Linked DNA regions of Homo sapiens: region 2 is linked to region 1. The links are contacts of gene promoters, found by promoter capture Hi-C in blood cells and fetal thymus (Javierre and others, 2016). All regions are on one chromosome and are shown on one strand. The core of a region is centred on a gene start or on the middle of the fragment in contact, and the rest is flanking DNA. Distances in the headings are between cores, read along the strand shown.

Region 1 (5,971 bases), core at 2,323-4,822:
AGCACCCTTGTACACAGAGATGGCAGAGCGGCTACAGAGGAGGAGCTCTTTATTGTGGGAGGTGTCTGGAACTGCAGGAAGGTCAGCAGCGCAGTGGGGCGCAACCCCAGCCAGCTGGCAGTTAGGGCTGGGCTGGGCGCCATCCGCCCCGTTTCCCATCTCCCTCGGCGCATCCCTGGGGAGCCGCCATCACTCGGCAGATTCCGCATCAAACCTAAGGTCCTGGAGAACCTCGCTGATCGCCTCCATGGTTTTAATTACCCTACAAGAGCGGATGGGAACTATAAATAAAACCCAGATGGGGTGAATTAGCTGCTGCCGCGAAGCTGCAAGAGGGCTGTGGCTGTGGTGAGCCCCAGGCCCTCCTGCCCGCCGCCAAACCTCCAGGCAGCACTAGCAGCAAGAGGGAACACTTAGGTGCTAGGGAGAAGGGGTGGCCCCATAGGTCACAGTGGGCTGAGAGAAAAGGCCATCTGGGCTGGGCATGGTGGCTCACGCCTGTAATCCAGCACTTTGGGAAGCTGAGGCAGGCAGATCACCTGAGGTCAGGAGTTCAAAACAAGCCTGGCCAACATGGCGAATCCCCGTCTCTACTAAAAATACAAGAATTAGCCAGGCATGGTGGCGGGCATCTGTAATCCAAGCTACTTAGGAGGCAGAGGTTACGGTAAGCCAAGACCGCACCACTGCACTCCAGCCTGGGTGACAGAGCAAGACTCTATCTCAAAAAAAAGAAAGAAAAAAGAAAAGAAAATAAAGGACCAGGCGTGCTGGCTTACGCCTGTAATCCCAGCACTTTGGGAGGCTGAGGTGGGCAGATCACGAGGTCAGGAGATCGAGACCATCCTGGCCAACATGGTGAAACCCATCTCTACTAAAATACAAAAAATTAGCTGGGCGTGGTGGCACGCGCCTGTAGTCCCAGCTACTCAGGAGGCTGAGGCAGGGGAATCACTTGAACCCGGGAGGCGGAGGTTGCAGTGAGCTGAGATCGCGCCACTGCACTCCAGCCTGGTGACAGAGTGAGACTGCATCTCAGAAAAAAAAGAAAAGAAAAGGCCATCTTGGTGGGGTGTGTACCATTAGGAGGTTATGAAGTGTGACTTTGTCAAATGTGTGTGTACATGAGTGTGTGTGCTTGGGGGCTGAGGACAGGCATCTGAAGGTCTGTGCTCAGTGGGGCATGTCCAAGCTCCACGGACAGCCACGTGTGCAGGATTGGCATGTGTCGAGGTATACAGCAGTGTCCCAGCAATGCACAGCGAAACTGATGTGAAGTTTCACGGCTGTGCCCTCTGGGGAAGTGTACATCTGAGGGCCACCAGGTGAGAACACCATTGTGCACTGGCAGAGGGTTCCTCTGCTGGCAGCGTCCTGACCGTGCCAACCCTGGTGCAAATCGAGCATAGCCAGGCGGCTTGGGCAGCAGCGCTCACTTCATTTTCAGCTGCTGCATCCGTACAGCGTCCTCCTGCCCCGCCAGCTCTGGCGTCTCCATCAACTGCAGCAGGGCCACCTGGTGGGGGAATGAGCAACACGAAGGATGTCTCCACGAGCAGAACCCACCCCCTGCCCTCCAAGGATGTTCAGGAAAAAACAGAGGCACCCAGAAAGGCAGTGCCCGGGTAGAACCACGAGGGGCAGTGCTTTGTGTAGGAAGAGTCCGAAATTCAGTTTAGAGGCTCTCTCAGAAAGGAGACAGCAGGCAGGCCAGAGGCAGTGCTGAGCGCGATGTGGGCGTGGCCTGGGAACAACAGTGACGTCTTAGCCAGGCATTGGCCGTAGGGGTGGGTTAGGTTGCGCCTCATGGTCCCAGGGACGGGGACCCAGGATAAAAGTAGGCCAAAAAGCCTGGACGCGGTGGCTCACGCCTGAAATCCCAGCACTTCGGGAAGCAGAAGAGGGCGGATCGCTTGAGACCAGGAGTTCGAGACCAGCCTTGCCCATATGGCACAACCCCGTCTCTACTAAAAAAAATACAAAATACAAAAATTATGCCTGTAATCCCAGCTACTCAGGAGGCTGAGGCAGGAGAATCGCTTGAATCTGGGAGGCGGAGGTTGCCGTTAGCCGAGATCGCGCCATTGCACTCTAGCCTGGGTGAGAGAGCAAGAGAGCAAGAGCCTGTCTTAAAAAAAAAAAAAAAAAAAAAAAACACCAGAAAGAAAAAGGCCAAAGAGACGCTGAGACGGGTCGCTCATGGGGGGCGTGGCCTAGGAATTCCAGTCACACACGGTTGCAGGGCCGAGCAGGCGGATCGCAAGAGAGAAATAGGCAAAGAACTAAAGCTGTGATGGAGGAATAATACGGAGGAGGCGTGGCCTGGGACCCCCCTCGCCTGTATCTACGGGAGGTTGAGGGTGGGACCCTAGACGCGGAACAACCAGAGTGGGTGGAGCATTGTTGGGGCGGGATCTGGGCATCTTGGAATAGCATTTAGGCGGAGCTGGGAGAAAGCGGGAGTGCTCTGGGAATAAGGACAAAACTTGGGAAAAAAATTGGGGATGAACAGCAGAGGGCAAGGTCCGAGAATCCCCAAGTGAAGCCTTAATAGAGGATTGGGGTGGGACAGGAAGGGGTGAGGTCTGTGTATGGGATACTGGGACCACCCCCCAACCAGGGGTGCGTCATGAGAGGAGCCGGCCAGGGTCCTAGAGACACGGCGGGGAAGGGGTGGTGGCCTCACCGTGCCCAGCCGCGTCTGCTCCAGCTCCTGCAGGCTGCGCACGTGGCCGGCGAGCAGCGGCTGCCTGCGAGGCCCGCCCAGCTCTGCTTCCACCGCCAGCACCTCCCGCGAGGCGGCGGCGAAGGCCTGGGTCACCCCGTGCACTGTGCTCCGGTAGCGCGCGAAGTCGTAGTCAGGGCCGCTGCGCAGGTACTGGCGGTGGCCTCTGCGGCATGTGGGGACCCTGAGGCCGCGCCCCCAGGCTCTCAGGCCCTGCACCGGCGCCAACCACCTGAAAGGCCCCCAGGAAGTGTCCCCAGACACCAGAGGGGAGGACTGGTAGGTAGGAAGGACGCTTCCTGACTCCCGCAGGGGAACGCGAGACAGGCCCACCCCTGCTCTTGGGGAGGAGAGAGAAGCCACGAAGAGTGAGTCGTCGGGTAGTGGGGACGTGCTGTGGGGCCTTTTTCGTGAAGGTGAGGACCCGGTGCCCCGAAATCCCCGCCCCATCTGACTCTGCAGCCACACAAGGACCCAGCTCCTCCTCCAGGCACGCCCGCCGAGAACACGCCCACGCCCGGAGCGGGCGGGGGACCGAACCCTGAGCCCCTCCGCGCCCCCACTCACTCCTCCAGTCGGCGGAAGCCCTGCGCGCGCTCAGCCTGCAGCTGGTGGATGCGCTGCACCAGCGTCCGGATCGGGGCGTCTTTCTGCGGGACAGGGGGCACGGCTGGGGCATGAAGCCCGCGCCCCTGGGTCTGCGCCGCCCGCCCCGCGCCCGTTCCCGCTTGGGCCTGGGCTCACCCAGGGCCACGCCGGCTCCTCGCGTCCCCGAGCTTCGGTGGCCTCCTCAGCAGCAGGCACTGCAGGGACCGTAGGCTCCGCCGCGGTCTCGGTGATCATGACTGCGCAGCCCTGGCCAGGCTCCGGAGCAGGCCCTTCCGCTGCGCCCGACGCCCCCTACAGGCCGGGAGGTCCACGGACCCCCTACCCTGCGGCCGGCCAGCCAGAAGGAAGAAAGGGGAACCAAGACCGCGGGCCGCCCAGTCAAGCCCACCCTTCTTGTTCCCGTCCAGGGCCCGCCTCCGATCGTGTTTTTCCTTGATTGTGCGGCTCTGAATACAGAACAGCTGTTAGCCTTGAGTTCGTTCCTATGCTTGTATCTCAACACCGACTTCCACTTGAAGCGGGTACTGAGCGTGGGTTTTGACGTTCAAGAGTGTTAAGTAAGCCTGGGCAACCTAGGGAGGCCCGATCTCTACAGAAAAACCAATTAGCCCGACATGGTGGCTCCCGCCTCCAGTCCCAGCTACTCGGGAGGCTGAGGTGGGAGGATTACATGAGCCCGGGAGTTGGGGGCTGCCATGAGCTATGACCATGCCACTGCACTCCAGCCGGAGCCACAGTGAGTCTGCCTCAAAAAAAGTGCAGTGGCTGGAACTCCACCAACATTAACAGAGATTCACTGGCTCTTCAGAGAATCACAGGGGTGAAGACAAGATTCAGTGACAGGGACGGTGTCAACAGCCCACCGAGTTGAATTGGGTGTCTTGTGTAATAGCCCTGAGCCTGGAGCATAGCAGGGGCCAGAACGACCTCAAAGTACAGAGGAGGCCTTGGAGCTTCCTGCTGGAGGGATACATGGGCTAGACAGAGCTTTGGAAAGCTTCCTCCTCCAGGGGCCCAGCCGGAGGAGCAGGAAGATGCTGGTAGCCTGACTTAGTGAAGAGGGACCAGCTCAGGTATGGGGTGACAGACACCAGCCTTTAAGGGGGAAGGGACTAGGCTGTTAGTGAGTTGGGAGTTTTTCTTGCCGATGGGTTCGTGGTCTCGCTAACTTTGAAGAATGAAGCTGTGGACCTTCGCGGTGTGTGTTACAGATCAAAAAGAGTCCACGGACCAGGAGAGTGAGCAGCAGGGCAGTTTATTGAACAAAGCGAAAGGAAAGCTTCCACATGCTGGAAGGGGACCCGGAAGGGTTGCCGTTGCTGGCTCCGGTGGCTAGGGCTCATATCCCTATGTTACCCCTCCCCTTTCTTTTTGTCCATTGAGAGTGGTTCTTTTTTCAATCCTCCTCTGGAGTGTTTTTTTTTTTTGTTTTTTTTTTTTTTTTTTTTTAGTGAGACAGAGTCTCGCTCTGTCGCCCAGGCTGCAGTGCAATGGCACGATCTCGGCTCACTTCAAGCTCTGCCTCCCGGGTTCACGCCATTCTCCTGCCTCAGCCTCCCCAGTAGCTGGGACCACAGGCGCCCGCCACCACACCCGGCCAATTTTTTGTATTTTTAGTAGAGGCAGGGTTTCACCGGGTTAGCCAGGATGGTCTCAATCTCCTGACCTCGTGATCCGCCCGCCTCGGCCTCCCAAAGTGCTGGGATTACAGGCGTGAGCCACCGCGCCCGGCCTGGAGTGGTTAATTCTGAATCCTTCACTCGATTGGTTAAGAACTCAAAACACTGAGTCACAGGGGTCTTCTGTGAAAGTCCCCAAACCTGCCCAGTAAATCCTGCCAACTCCACCCCTCAGTCCCCTCTCTCAACAGGAGAGCCCAACTGCTGTTGGGGTGTGGGAGGATGACCACTCTAATTGCTTCCTGCTGAATAGGGGCATAGAAGGGGTTCTGTAGCTGAGGTTTCCTCGTGAGAGGTGGTTTGGGTGTCAACGTCCGGGTATGGGCCGGCAGGCTGGTTTAGGGGTCCTTGATAATAGGTGCTGGTTGAAGTCATCTGAGGTTCCATCTGCAGTAACATTTCTAGTTTCATTGATTCTATTCAGGAAGAAACGAAAGGATGAAGGAACTGAAAAGACATGGGCCAAAGGTTACTCCTAGAATAATCATAAGGAAGGGACCTAAAAATGGAAGAAGCCAGTGGAGAACAGGCTGTGAGAACCCTGAGGTAGTTTCGGTTGTCCCACCATGTAGTCTGCTAGCTCTATCCTGAAGTCATTTAATTCCATCTCTCACTATGCCTGATTTATTGACATAAAAACAACATTCCTTGTTCAGAAAAAGGCATGTTCCTCCCCTTTCGGCAGTGAGGAGATTGGAGATCTAGTGCTCACTGGTTCTGGAGAACCACAGCTGCTAATGAGTCTATTTGGTCCTGGATTTGAGTAAGTTGGAGAGAGATTTCATCTAGGCTGTGAGTCCACTTCCTAGGTGGTAGTAAATCCTAAACCAGCCAATAGAGGAAGTAGTGAGATTGCTCTCGGCTGAAGCTTAGCATGAATGGGCACAGCTACTGCCTCTTCTGAAAAGGAATAAGTCACAGGAGGTACTATGTAGGCTAAAGTACAAGTTCCTGTCCA
Region 2 (5,971 bases), core at 1,813-4,312, 290 kb before region 1:
GAGGTGGCCCTTTCAACTTTAATTAGACTTAAATAAAACTCCAGGAGCAGTAGCTCATGCCTGTAGTCCCCCAGCTACTTAGAAGGCTGAGTCAGGAGGATTGCTTGAACCCAGAAGTTTGAGTTCAACCTAGGCAACGTAGGGAGACCCTGTCTCTAATAAATAAATTTTTAGGCTGAGTGCGGTGGCTCACGCCTGTAATCCCACCACTTTGCGAGGCCGAGGCGAGCGGATCATGAGGTCAGGAGATCGAGACCATCCTGGCTAACACAGTGAAACCGTGTCTCTACTAAAAATACAAAAATTAGCTGGGCGTGGTGGTGGGCGCCTGTAGTCCCAGCTACTCAGGAGGCTGAGACAGGAGAATGGCATGAACCCGGGAGGCGGAGGTTGCAGTGAGCCGAGATCATGCCACTGCACTCCAGCCTGGGCGACAGAGCGAGACTCCGTCTCAAAAATAAACAAACACGTACATAAATACATTTTTAAAATTACTTTATCTTATTTATTTACTTACTTATTTTTTTGAGACAGAGTCTCGCTCTGTCGCCCAGGCTGGAGTGCAGTGCCATGACATTGGCTTACTGCAACCTCCGGCTCCCAGGTTCAAGCAATCCTCCCGCCTCGCCTCAGCCTCCCAAGTAGCTGGGATTACAGGGGTATGACATCACACCGGCTAATTATTATATTTTTAGTAGAGATGGGGTTTCACCATGTTGGCCAGGCTGGACTCGAACTCCTGACCTCAAGTGATCCACCTGCCTCGGCCTCCCAAAGTGCTGGGATTACAGGTGTGAGCCACCACGTCTGGTTAGTTTAAAAAATAATTTTAAAAAGCCCCTATTCCATTCCTCAGCCACACAAGCCACAGTTCAAGGGCTCAGTGGCCACAAGTGGCTGGTGGCTCCCATGTTGGACAGTACAGGTTTAGAACATTCCCATAGTTCTAGAAAGTTCTATAATTCAAGGCTCTCTAGAGGGCAGAATCAGATGATAGAACCAAAAAGGAAGGAAGGAACAGTTCATTTGAAGGTGATAAGAATTATGGAGAAAAGGCCAGGTGCAGTGGCTCATGCCTGTAATCCCAGCACTTTGGGAGGCCGAGGTGGGTGGATCACCTGAGGTCAGGAGTTTGAGAACAGCCTGGCCAACATGGTGAAACCCTGTGTCTGCTAAAAATAAAAAAATTAGCTGGGCATGGTGATGAGTGCCTGTAGTCCAAGCTACTCAAGAGGCTGAGGTGGGAGAATCGCTTGAACCCGGGAGGCAGAGGTGGCTGTGAGCCGAGGCATTCCAGCCTGGGCAACAGAGTGAGGCTGTGTCTCCAAAAAAAAATTGTGGCTGCAGGTGTTAGGTGTTAGTTGGTCTGGGGGTGACAGATGAGCAGATGAGCAGAGACTGAAAGGAGTGAAGGGAGGTGCTGAATGCCAGGCACTGGCATGCTGGGTCATGGGGACAGCACGTGCAAAGGACCTGTGGCAGGAGCCCAGGAGCTGTCAGGAGACAGAGCAAGGAACAGGGACTTGGTGAGAGACACTTCCCCACGTCCAGGGTGAATCCAGGACCCTCGGGCAGCTCATCTGTCAGATGGAGACTCTGTGGAAGGACAGGGGATGGCCTTCGGGCTTATTAAGATCCTAATGGGGCCGGGCACGGTGGCTCACACCTGTAATCCCAGCACTTCGGGAGGCCAAGGCGGGTGGGTCACATGAGGTTGGGAATTCGAGATCAGCGGGACCAACATGGTGAAACCCCGTCTCTACTAAAAATACAAAATTAACTGGGCGTGGTGGCACATACCTGTAATGCCAGCTACTTGGGAAGGCTGAGGCAGGAGAATTGCTTGAACCCGGGAGGTGGAGGTTGCGGTGAGCTGAGATCGTGCCATTGCGCTCCAGCCTGGGCAACAAGAGCAAGACTCTGTCTCAAAAAAAAAAAAAAATTAAAAAAAAAAAGGATCCTGATGGGCTGCGGCAGAGGCCTTTCCTGCAGCGATGGCCAGGCTGCACGTACAGACCTGGAAGTCTCATCATGGTGGTGGTGTCCAAAGTGAGGGACAAGCTCATGGAGGATCTGGACACAGAGTACCCCAGGCCTGTGAGAGTCGGGGGTCATAGAGGGTCAGAGGTCACCAAGATGAGGAGGGGCCAGCAAGGAACTTCCAAGACCGGGCACAGTGGCTCGCGCCTGTAATCCCAGCACTTTGGGAGGCCAAGGTGAGAAGATCGCTTGAGCCCAGGAGTTTGAGGCCATTCTGGGCAACATAGCAAGACCCAGTCTCTACTAAAAATTAAAAAAATTAGCCGTGTGTGGTGTTGCTTTCCTGTAGTCCCAGCTTCTCCGGGGGCTGAGGTGGGAGGATCACTTGAGCCTAGGAGTTTGAGGCTGCAGTGGGCCCGATCACACCACTGCACCCCAGCCTGGGCCACAGAGCAAGACCCTGTCTCAAAAGAAAAATAAACTTCCAGGGAGCTCCCTGGGCCACATGGGGACACTGAGGCAGGGAAGATGAGGGTCTGGTTGGGGGTGCACGGCTAAGTGGGGGACAGTGAGGAAAGGGCATCCTGGGAAGTGGAGATGGGCAGGGCAGGCGAGGCAGGAAGGGTGGCTTTGAAGAGGCCCACGGGGAGCCTGAGGTGTAGCCCAGGGACTCTGCTGGGGGCCTTAGTGCAGAGTGGAGGTCCCCCAATGTGAGCTGCCCTCTCCTCTCTGCCTGCTGCTCCCCCAGGTACCACAATGTGGGCATCCTTGTGCTCTTCCTGCACGATATCAGTGACGTGCAGCTTGAGTTCACCAAGCTCAACATTTACTTCAAGTCCCGCGGCGGCTCCTACCATCGGCTGCATGCCTTGGCAGCAGACTTGGGCTGCCTCAGCTTCGGCTTCAGCTGGTGAGTGGTAGGGAGTGCTGGGCAGGGAGGGAGGTGTGGCCTGGTGAGGTGGGTGTGTCCAGAAAAGGGGCGGGACCAGGCAGGGAAGGAGGCGGGGCCCGGTGAGGTGGGTGTGTGGCATGACAGGGGAGGGGCCTCATGATTTGGGTGGGACTGAAGGGGCGGGGCTATACAGGAAAGGAGTAGGACAAGGGTGGGGCCAACTGAGCTAGGAGTGGGGCTGGGCAGAAAAGGATAAGCCAGGTGAGGTGGGTGGATCCAGGAAGGGGAGGGGCCTGGTGAGATAGGTTGGGCCAGGCATGGAAGGGGAAGAGCTAGACTAATACAGAGCAAGCCAGGGGTGGGGCCAAGCAGGGTTGGGGTAGGGCTAGGCAGAGAAAGAGGTAGGGCTTTGGTGTGGTGGGGAAGACCTGGCAGAGAAAGGGAGGCGCTGTGCAGGGAAGGAGGTGGGGGCTTGGTGAGGTGGGCGGGGCCTGGCAGAGAAGGGGAGGGACTGGGCAGGGAAGGAGGTGGGGCCTTGGTGAGGTGGGTGGGGCCTGGCAGGAAAGGGGAGGGACTGGGCAGGGAAGGAGGTGGGGTTTGGTGAGGTAGGTGGGGCCTAGCAGAGAAGGGGAGGGACTGGGAAGGGGAGGAGGTGGGGCCTTGGCGAGGTGGGTGAGGCCTGGCAGGGAAGTGGGGGGCCAGGCGGGGAAGGATGTGGGGCCTTGGCGAGGTGGGCGGGGCATGGCAGGGGAGGGGAAGGACAGAGCAGTAGTAGAAACAGGTGGGCAGAGGTGGGCAAGGATGGGATAAGGGGGCAAGGGTGGGTCTAGGACGGGATAGGACAGGGACTGGGTAGGGCACCGTCCCCCTCCACCCACGGCCTCCTGACTCCTCCCACCGCAGGTTCTGGTTCCGCCTCTACTGGTTCCCGCTCAAGGTCCTGTATGCCACCAGTCACTGCAGTCTGCGCACGGTGCCTGACATCCCCTTCTACTTCTTCTTCAATGCGCTCCTGCTGCTGCTCACCCTTATGAACCTCTACTGGTTCCTGGTGAGTCGGCCCCGGCTCTCCTCCACAGTGGCGGTCCCGTCCTCGTCCCAATCCCTGTCCCCTCCTCAGGCAGTCCCGGGGAGGGGCACGTTAGGTGGCAGACAGCCCGTGTGGAGGGCCCGGGACAGGAGCACATGGCTGTCAGCAGGGCAGTGGCGTGGGGGCTTTCTTCTCACTGGCACCTCCCCTCCCCTCTCGCAGTACATCGTGGCGTTTGCAGCCAAGGTGTTGACAGGCCAGGTGCACGAGCTGAAGGACCTGCGGGAGTATGACACAGCCGAGGCCCAGAGCCTGAAGCCCAGCAAAGCCGAGTGAGTGTGGAGGGGCCCGCACCCCGCGTTCCCTCCTTTAGTGTCACCCGTCCAAGCGTGTTCGTGGGCAGGCCCCCAAGACCCAGCAGCAGATGAGGCCGACGCGGATGCTGCCCCCCAAGCCTACTCCAAAACAGAGACTGCAATAAAGGCGTGGACGATGTGGCCAGTACCCTGAAGGACAGGACAGTGAGGAAGGGGAGGGAGAGGCTGGGGAGGGGCAGGCAGGGCGACAGGCAGGGTCTCAGCGGTAGGGACACTGAGGGCCAGGCCTAGTGGCTGGTGTGGCGGGAGTGGCGAGCCAGGGCCCTGTGGGTGGTGAGGAGTAGTTGCTGGCCAGCCTGGATGACGACCTCTGACCCATGTCGCCACTGGAGCTGGTGGCAGTGGGGCTGGGGAGGAAGGAACGCCAAGGGCCACAGAGAGAACCCAGGCTCCATCTGGGCCGAGACATCCTGGCCTCTGAGTTTGACAGGGGAGCCCACTGCCCGGCCAAACAGGAGCTGGGGCTGGGAGCTCAGACTCAGTCCAGCCCAGGTGGGAGTCCTGGGGAAGGAGATAGCCCACGAGCCTCACCAGCCCTGGGTGACAGCCAGATGGTGTCCGAAGCCCCAGGCCTGGGGCAGGCAGGGGGTGTCTGGGCCAGGGATGAACGGAGGCCAAACTGGGTAACAAGCAGAGTCGGGTGTGCAGTGTCTCATAGGCAACGTGAGGAGTGTTTGAGCAGGAGCCGGGGCAGGAGGTTGTGGAAGGCCCTGGAAGGTGCCGACCAGCCAGGCCCTCTGATTTGGCCGGTGGGGGCCATCGGTGACGTGGGAACGATGGTTTCAGGGAAGCAGTGGCTCAGAGCTCCGTGACGTTTTTTGGAACGGGAGGTGCGAGATGCAGACATTTAACACATCCGGGGCTGTAGCCAGGCAGAGGAGCGTCAGACCCCCCACCCTGTTTGGAAGGGAGAACCCATCAGATTCGCCTTGGGTGTAGATGAAACAGAAATAAAAGAATCAAAGACGACTCAAGACTTTTGGCTCGAGCTGGTATTGACTGAGATGGGATTGGGGCAGAGGGTCACATGGGTTCTGGCAGATGCGGCGTTAGGAGCCTCCTTTTGAGGGTGTTAGATTGCGCTGTCCTTTGAGCATGAGTCAAGAATTCTTTTTTTTTTTTTTTTTTGAGACAGGGTCTCACTCTGTCGTCCAGGCTGGAGTGTGCAGTGGCACGATCTCGGCTCGCTGCAACCGCCGCCTCCCAGGCCCAGGAAGTGATCCTCCTGCCTCAGCCTCCCAAGTAGCTGGGCCCACAGGCATGCACCACCATGCTGTGCTAACTTTTGTATTTTTTGTAGAGCTGGGGTTTCCTCATGTTGCTCAGGCTGGTCTCAAACACCTGGGCTCAAGTGGTCCACATGCCTTAGCCTCCCAAAGCTGCTGGGATTACAGGCATGAGCCACTGCAGCCGGCCTGAGTCGGGAATTCTCCAGAGATCAGCTAGGTCTCTCCAAGGAGTCTTCCAAAGGTGGCGATGGCTAAAGGGGGCACCAGTTTGGCCACATCTAGACACCAGGAAGGTCCTCTTGCTGTAGAACAGTGAGCTCATGGTGGGGACATCCTCGGAGGTGCAGAACCCAGAACAAGAGGAAGCCAGACCTCCCAGCCCCACCAGTGTCTGGCTCTGTCCCCGCTGAGGATGTCTCATCAGAACACAGGGTAAGAGCTGGCATGTCCTCTAGGACAGCAA

Evidence for each region. The method cuts DNA at HindIII sites, captures the fragments that hold promoters and counts their contacts. A CHiCAGO score of 5 or more calls a contact.
Region 2: a contact is called between a fragment that was not itself captured here and the fragment with the promoter of REX1BD in region 1, in 3 of 17 cell types (endothelial precursors, total CD8 T cells and naive B cells). The highest score is 5.9, in endothelial precursors.

Annotation. Positions count from the first base shown.
Region 1 is chr19:18,586,399-18,592,369 of GRCh38, reverse strand. It overlaps REX1BD (required for excision 1-B domain containing), which reads right to left and starts at 3,572. Exons shown (of 5, transcript NM_001100418.2): 1 at 3,470-3,572; 2 at 3,293-3,375; 3 at 2,687-2,957; 4 at 1,437-1,516; 5 at 33-262. The coding sequence starts at 3,568. The coding sequence ends at 190. RefSeq lists an enhancer at 198-721 and a silencer at 3,225-3,744. The HindIII fragment of the contact is 10,738 bases long and covers 1-4,333 here.
Region 2 is chr19:18,877,193-18,883,163 of GRCh38, reverse strand. CERS1 (ceramide synthase 1) reads left to right here. Exons shown (of 8, transcript NM_021267.5): 4 at 2,729-2,890; 5 at 3,776-3,923; 6 at 4,125-4,234. GDF1 (growth differentiation factor 1) reads left to right here. Exons shown (of 8, transcript NM_001492.6): 4 at 2,729-2,890; 5 at 3,776-3,923; 6 at 4,125-4,234. Among named protein-coding and RNA genes, the nearest start is that of CERS1, 16 kb to the left of the region's middle. RefSeq lists a silencer at 2,913-2,962. The HindIII fragment of the contact is 8,205 bases long and covers 1-5,971 here.